2 separate regions of the Homo sapiens genome follow, and region 1 is linked to region 2. The links are contacts of gene promoters, found by promoter capture Hi-C in blood cells and fetal thymus (Javierre and others, 2016). All regions are on one chromosome and are shown on one strand. Each heading gives the region's core, a stretch centred on a gene start or on the middle of the fragment in contact. The rest is flanking DNA. Distances are from core to core; before and after follow the strand shown.

Region 1 (3,266 bases), core at 511-3,010, 640 kb before region 2:
AAAACGGGAGTAAGGTGGTGGCAGCCTCATAGAGCTGCTCTGAGGATTAAGTGAATGAACACAGTGAAGTGCTAGAAGTAAAGCTACAAAAGCAGCAGCCACCACAGTACCTACCACAGTGGCAAAGACACAGCAGGTGCTCAATCCAAGGGCTTGGAATTGAACGATATAGAACATCAGTGATTTAATAATAGTAAATTAGTCACAGACCCGGGGCTCCAACAACTGAATATATGTGAATATCACTCTCCCAGCTGCAGAGGAAAACGGCCTTGCCAAGCCAAATCCTGTAAAAAGGGTTGACAATGGCAAGACTGATCCTTCTCACGCATTCCCACCGGCCACTGGGCCTCACGAGGACAATCCAATCGTGTGGGTGTCCCGTGGGCAGCAGCACAGAAGCACCAGCTTGTCCAGCAGGTTCCCCGCCAGCTGAAGGGCACAGATGGATGTGCCGCCATCAGGGCCTGGGCCTGAGTGTGCCCAAGGCCGTGGTACATCCAGCCACGCACAGAGCTGCCAGAATGCCCGTAGCTCAGCCCCTGCAGTCCTCACTGCCAGGCTGAAAGCGGGCCATGCTGAGCCATGCACAAGGCCACCTGGCTCACAAATAACCCAGGAAATCAGAGTACTTGGGTTTTTAAATTGCTCCACTGTGGGCAGAAAGAAACCCTACCCAGAGTCAAAAGTGCTGACCATGTCATTGAATCATAGATTCTCTTTGCTGATGGGCCACTTTGCATCCGAATACTGCCAAGGCCCAAGGTAATGGGTATGGTGGTATAAGACTCAAACGAGTAAGTGAAAATCAATACAGATGCTCTTTGACCTATGATGGGACTCTATCCTGTTTAAGTTGAAAATGTCATAAGTTCAAATGCATTTAATACCCTTAACCTACTGTACATCAGAGCTTAGCGTGGCCCAGCTTCAACATGGTCAGAACACTTGCATGTTCCTACAACTGGGCAAAGTCATCTAACACAAATCCTATTTTTAAATAAAATGTTGGGTATCTCCTGTAATATATTGAAAACAGCACTGAAAGTGAAAAACAGAATGGCTATATGGGTACCACCATAAAGTAGCAAAATCAAAAATCAAAGCATCGTAAGCCAGGGACCATCCATCTGTTAACTGGAAGCCTCATGTCAGCTAAGAGCAATAACACGCATTTGCTAACAGCACATTTTGTTACCTGCCTAATTACCGGTCCGTCCAGCCACTTGAGGACACACTGGAATGCCGTGGATTCCTTCCAAGGCTGGCGCGCTCTCTGTGGGTGGGGAGGGACAAGCACGTTTTGGGTGAAGATCCTGTGCCAGTCGTTCATCCTGCCCGCCTGAGGGTCCCGTGGGCTTCCCGGATGATCTGTGCCAGTCGTATTCAAATAAAGAGAAGAGCTGTGAGGGCTACAGTGGTCACAGCAATCCTGAAGGCTTCTGCCTCCCACTAAATCCCAGAGGAACCTCCATCCCCCAAACCCACACTCTGCAAACCCCAGAAGAGTGGACTTTGTTGCTGGCTGGCACCCATGCTGCCTCCTCTAGGAAGTACCATTTGCATTTCAAAAAGGAAAAATAAACGTAGATATATTTATTTGTATTTGCTTAGAATTTATGAAAGCTGTACAATAACACACTGTATCTAGGGTGATACACCAGGTACCTGGGGTCAACATGGGATGATTCACTTTTCCTGTGTATCCTTGTCAACTTTGAACTATGCGAATTACCTTTTCAGAAATAAAAATAAAATGGAGAAATAAAATCTACCTCCAGAGAACCCTCCGCCCCACCCCTACCCCCGTGGGCCAGACTCAGGGCACGACTCTCCTGACCTCTGTGGCTGGTTCCGGATGGGGACATGAAGGGATGTTTTATTCAGCTGTGTAAGTTGGATACCACACAAGGACACCAGGGGTGGGTGGCTGCTGAAATACAGTCCTAGCGTTAAGACTGTCTTGTAGGGGACCCAGGGAGCATGAGAGAGGGAATACAGCCCTTGGGCCAAGAGGTGGTCAGCCTGAAACTGCCCGGGGCCACCTTAGGACACACATAAAAACAAGCAGAGAGGAAAAGGTAGGAGTGAGGGCCACTGGGTCCCCATGTCATTATTAGAGACCTCAGTTGGTCACCCCACGACACTTCAGCTACATGAACAAAGTCTCTTGTTGCTAAAGCCATTTGGGGACAGGTTTCAGGTGTTACCAGCTTCTTGGTGGGTCTTGGCCCGTTTTGAGTGTTATCTGATCCTGTCCAGCCAGACCGGGATCTAAATCTTCTCTAGCCAACACAGAATCCAAAGATCTGAACCTCAAGAAGAGGTTGAATTCCGTAAACTAAAATGGCGAGTAAGGAGAAAAAGAAGTGGGTTTGGCCTTCTAAGACAGCAGCTCTCTAAGTACATTCCCCAAACCCAAGGTTCAACAGGATCCTGTCAGGGGCTCTACAAGGTCAAAACTATTTTCATGACACCCAGGTGTTATCTCTTTCACCATGGTGGCATGGTGGGGCAGAGGCAGCAGCAGGGAAAGCCACTGGGGCCTCACTCAACCCAAGGCTGGTTGGGTTGAGTGAGGTCCTCCCAACCTCTCACAGAAAAGAACAAGGCAGCTTCAAGTAAGAACATCCTTGGTGAAGCCGGAAAAACTATTAATCTTATTACTTCTTGACCTTTGAGTACACACGTTCTTAATTTTGTGAGACGAAATGGAAAATACACAACAAGCATTTCTGCTGCAAACTGAAAGGCAACAGTCATCCCCGGGGAAGCCTGGCTGTGACTGGGCTGCATGCTGAACACACCGCTTTTATTATTCAACACCATTTTCACTAAGAAGAATGACTGAGAGACAAACATGGGTACTTGGCAGACATCTTCTCAAACGTGAACAAAGTTAGCATGTCACTTCCGGGAAAACAACTGCAACAAAAATGGAGTTTCCAAGCAAAAATGAGAATTAAGAACATTTGTATCCTCTACCATGAGCCTACTAGCTTCACACTTCTTCAAGACTTTCCTGATGAGAGGGGCAGTGATATAACGTGATCTTCTAAGGTTACACCATTAAATGTGTCAATAGTTGGAAGGTCTGCATGACTCCGTGAACCAATATTTTCTGAACAATGCGTAATGGTACAAAATCCTGCAAGAAGAAAACATCCACCCAAAGTGCAAGACAGACCAAAGGAGTTTAATGTCAGAGCACGAAGAGTTCATTCACATGGTGGAGACTCTGCTTTAGAACAAATCCTTAAGAAACT
Region 2 (3,720 bases), core at 221-2,720:
GCCAGGACGCATTGGAGAGGAATTTGCCAAAGATCTACCCTGAGATAACGCCTGTCCAGTGTCTTCACCACGTGAATAACCAGCGCTCCAAAGTGTTTTTCTGCTTTGAAAAAAAAAAATTCCACAAGCTTTTAAAGGTGCATTTAAGAATCCATGTGACTTTAGAATGGAACTGCCGGCCCTGGCAACTGTCACGTGTGCTAGAAGGTTCGATGCCTCTGGAATGCATGTGATACTCATCTCCATTTTGTTTCCTTGATTGCATTTTTGTTCTTTTAGCAGATCTGTCCCTGTGGGTGGTGTCTAAGAAGTCGGACACCTTGGTTTTTGTGTTAGATTGAGCTGGGCAGCTGCAATCAGCTTCTTTATATGCAAATTAGGCACGACCCATCTGTGGTTCCTGGTTGGTGGCTAATGAAGTGAGGGGAGGGAGGGATGTCACCCCAAAAGTAGGCCCTCCCATTGGCTTTGGCCAGGCCAGACACTTCACATCGTTTACATGGTTCTGTGTAATTTTAAAGTTTATGTGTATAAAGCGAAGCTGTTTCTGTGAAACTGTATATTTTGTAAATAAATATATTGCTACTTTGAGGTTCATGATTCAAGGTTCAGGCGATTGCGTTCTGTGCTGAAGGACAATTGTGTTTCTTTTCTCCTTGCTACCTCCCCAAAGCATGATTACATCAAGTCTCTGGGAAGGCAGCGTCTCAGTGTGCACTTAGCAGGATGGAAAATGCCCACGGTGTTAAGGTACCTTGCTGGTGAATTCCTTAGAAACAAACCACAGGACGAGTAGATGTGAATGGTTTTTGCAGTTTCTTCATCAGATTGAGGATTAGCTCAAGCCCCAGTGAGTGGTTAGCCTACTTTTGATTTTTTTTTTGTTTTTGAGACTTGAGTTTCGTTCTTGTCACCTAGGCTGTGAAGTGCTGTGATGAGATTTTGGCTCATTGTAACTTCCACCTCCCGGGTTCAAGAGATTCTCCTGCTTCAGCCTTCCGAGTAGCTGGAATTACAGGTGCCCGCCACCATGTGCGGCTAATTTTTGTATTTTTAGTAGAGATGGGGTTTCACCATGTCGGTCAGGCTGGCCTTGAACTCCTGATCTCAGGTGATCCGCCTGCCTCGGCCTCCCAAAGTGCTGGGATTACAGGCGTGAGCCACTGCGCCTGGCCGATTTTTTTTTTTTTCTTCTTACAAGATGACGCCTTCCCTATAGGCTGCTTTGAGAAAGCTGCAGCCTCGGAGTTTCTGCAAGGCCTGAACTGGAATCTCCCTCCCCTTCAGTTGCCCTTTTTGCCTCTTCACGTTTGGGGGTTCCCTGTGACCAAACTTAAGGGCAGTGAGCTGTCTGGCCTCTGAACTGACACCACCAGTGGCCAACTAGTACCACCTCCAGTGACGTCAGAGGAGTCCAGACCTATTCACAATTCAAAGCCCTAAAAACACTGAGGGGTTGGCCGTTGGTTTCCAGTTGTCCAAGCCTGTGAGTGGCTATGCGTCCTGGTTGGGTGCTCAAAGCAAGGAGGTGAAAGGCGACCAGCATTGGCGAATGGGGTAAGACTTGCACAGGCCCAAGGCTAGGAGTTGGGGTTTCGGGCCTGAATTGGGGCCCGGAGCACCCCTTTACGTGGCGCCCCGGGTCCCGTCCGACCCTGGGGAGACGCGGGTGGCTGGGATGGCAGGATGAGCGCGCCCTGGAGGCGAGCCAGGCCCGTCACCACCTCCCAGCGGCCCCGCCCCTCCCCGCAGGTCCCTCCCCTCTCCGCAGGCCCCGCCGCCGCCGCCATCTTTGTTGGGGGCAGCCAGGCCTGGCTCGAGATGCCGAAGTCGTGCGCGGCCCGGCAGTGCTGCAACCGCTACAGCAGCCGCAGGAAGCAGCTCACCTTCCACCGGTAAGAGGCGGGGACCCGGGGGCGCGGGAGGCCCAGACCCGGGGCCCGCGGACCGACTCCGAGGCCTTGGCGCGCCGGGCGGGAGGCCCAAAGGCGTGCGGCCGCTGGGCCCGGGGACAGGCCGAGGTCCTGGGCCCAGAGGGGCTGGCGCCGCCGCGCCCGCCGCGGGGATGCGGGGAGTGGCGGACGGAGGGGCAGCGGCGCACCTGGCGGGGCCAGGGCCGGGACGTGCAGGGAGCGGAGCAGGTGTTTGCTGAACAGACTAGCGGGCCGCGGCCGGGGTTTGCTGTGTCCCTGGTCGCTGCAGCCCCCGCCGCGCGCGGTCCTGAAGGGAGCCCGGCACCTGGGCAGTGCAGTGGAGGAGTGGAACCCCCAGGGGCGTCCTGGCAGTGGGAAGGGACTCTGCAGGGTCGCGGGAGGACGCTGGAGACTTTGGAGTCTGCTCCAGCACTCGCCCGGCCCGGCCCGGCCCGGCCCAGGAGCAATCGTCATTAGTCACAGTTGCGCTTTCTCCAAGGTCCAGTCACGGCACCATTTCTCTACCCACTTTTGGGCACATTCCGAAGGGGGGCTTGTGCTCATCGTTCCCATTCCCTCTGCTCCCATTGTTCTGTTTTGTGATAAATGCTTTGCTTGAAGTATACGTAATGTACATGCAGAAAAATGCACGAATCATAAGTATACAGCCCAGCGAGTTTTCCCCAAGTGAACGTCACTGAACTGAAACGTTACCAGCTGGGCGCGGTGGCTCAAGCCTGTCATCCCAGCACTTTGGGAGGCCGAGGCGGGAGGATCGCTTGAGCCTGGGAGTTCGAGACCTGCCTGGGCAACAGAAGGAGACCCTACCTCTACAAATAATTTAAAAAAATTAGCCAGGCAAGGTGGTGTGCCCCTGTAGTCCCAGCTGCTCGGGAGACTGAAGTAGGAGGATCGCTTGAACCCAGCTTCGAGGCTGCAGTGAGCTATAATCTTGCCACTGCACTCCAGCCTGGGTGACAGAGCGATACCTCATCTCAAAATAAGAAATAAAACATCACTACCCCCGAGAAGAACCCCTACCTGGACCCCCTCCCAGGCCCTCCTCCTCTCTCCTGCCCAAAGGGAACCCTATCCTGCCCGCTATCAGAGTGGATTGCAGTTCATTCGCTTTCGTTGCCACATAATATTCCATTGAATGCAAGTGCCAGAATTTACTGATTTGTTCTACAATTGAAGGGCATTTGGGTGGCCCCATTTTTTGGATGACAAATACATGGTTCTGGAGGCTGGGCGTGGTGGCTCACGCCTGTAATCCCAGCACTTTGGGAGGCCGAGCTGGGTGGATCACCTGAGGTCAGGAGTTGGAGACCAGCCTGACCAACATGGTGAAACCCCGTCTCTACTTCTCTACTACAAATACAAAAATTACCCGGGCGTGGTAGCGCGCACCTGAAATCCCAGCTACTCAGGAGGCTAAGGCAGGAGAATCACTTGACCCTGGGAGGCAGAGCTTGCAGTGAACCGAGATCGCACCACTACACTCCATCTTGGGCAACAGAGCGAGACTCCGTCTCAAAAAACAAAACAAAACAAACATTGTTTTGGCCAGTTTTGGTGGGACTTGTGTTGCAGTGCATCTATCTGTTTTGCCTCTGTCAGGTATGTACTTGGGGATGGAGTTGCTGCGCCTTCTCTCTTGAAGTCGTTTCCTCCACTCCCACGAGAGCTCTGTCACATCACTAGTGAGCCTTGTGACACTGATCGATTGCATAGCATTTCACACAACTGACCCCTGAGCCTGGGTCACTTTTCCCGCATGGCGTCTGGTACACTTCTTGGCCACAGG

What was found. The method cuts DNA at HindIII sites, captures the fragments that hold promoters and counts their contacts. A CHiCAGO score of 5 or more calls a contact.
Region 1: a fragment that was not itself captured here is called in contact with the fragment with the promoter of THAP3 in region 2 in 4 of 17 cell types (neutrophils, total B cells, naive CD4 T cells and 1 more); the score reaches 7.0 in neutrophils.

What each region holds. Positions count from the first base shown.
Region 1 is chr1:5,984,957-5,988,222 of GRCh38, forward strand. It overlaps NPHP4 (nephrocystin 4), which reads right to left. Exons shown (of 30, transcript NM_015102.5): 2 at 1,199-1,371. The coding sequence starts at 1,333. Among named protein-coding and RNA genes, the nearest start is that of NPHP4, 5.8 kb to the right of the region's middle. The HindIII fragment of the contact is 5,741 bases long and covers 1-3,266 here.
Region 2 is chr1:6,623,398-6,627,117 of GRCh38, forward strand. THAP3 (THAP domain containing 3) reads left to right here and starts at 1,471. Exons shown (of 6, transcript NM_001195753.2): 1 at 1,471-1,557; 2 at 1,753-1,895. The coding sequence starts at 1,822. PHF13 (PHD finger protein 13) reads left to right here. Exons shown (of 4, transcript NM_153812.3): 4 at 1-633. RefSeq lists a silencer at 1,862-2,271. The HindIII fragment of the contact is 4,820 bases long and covers 127-3,720 here.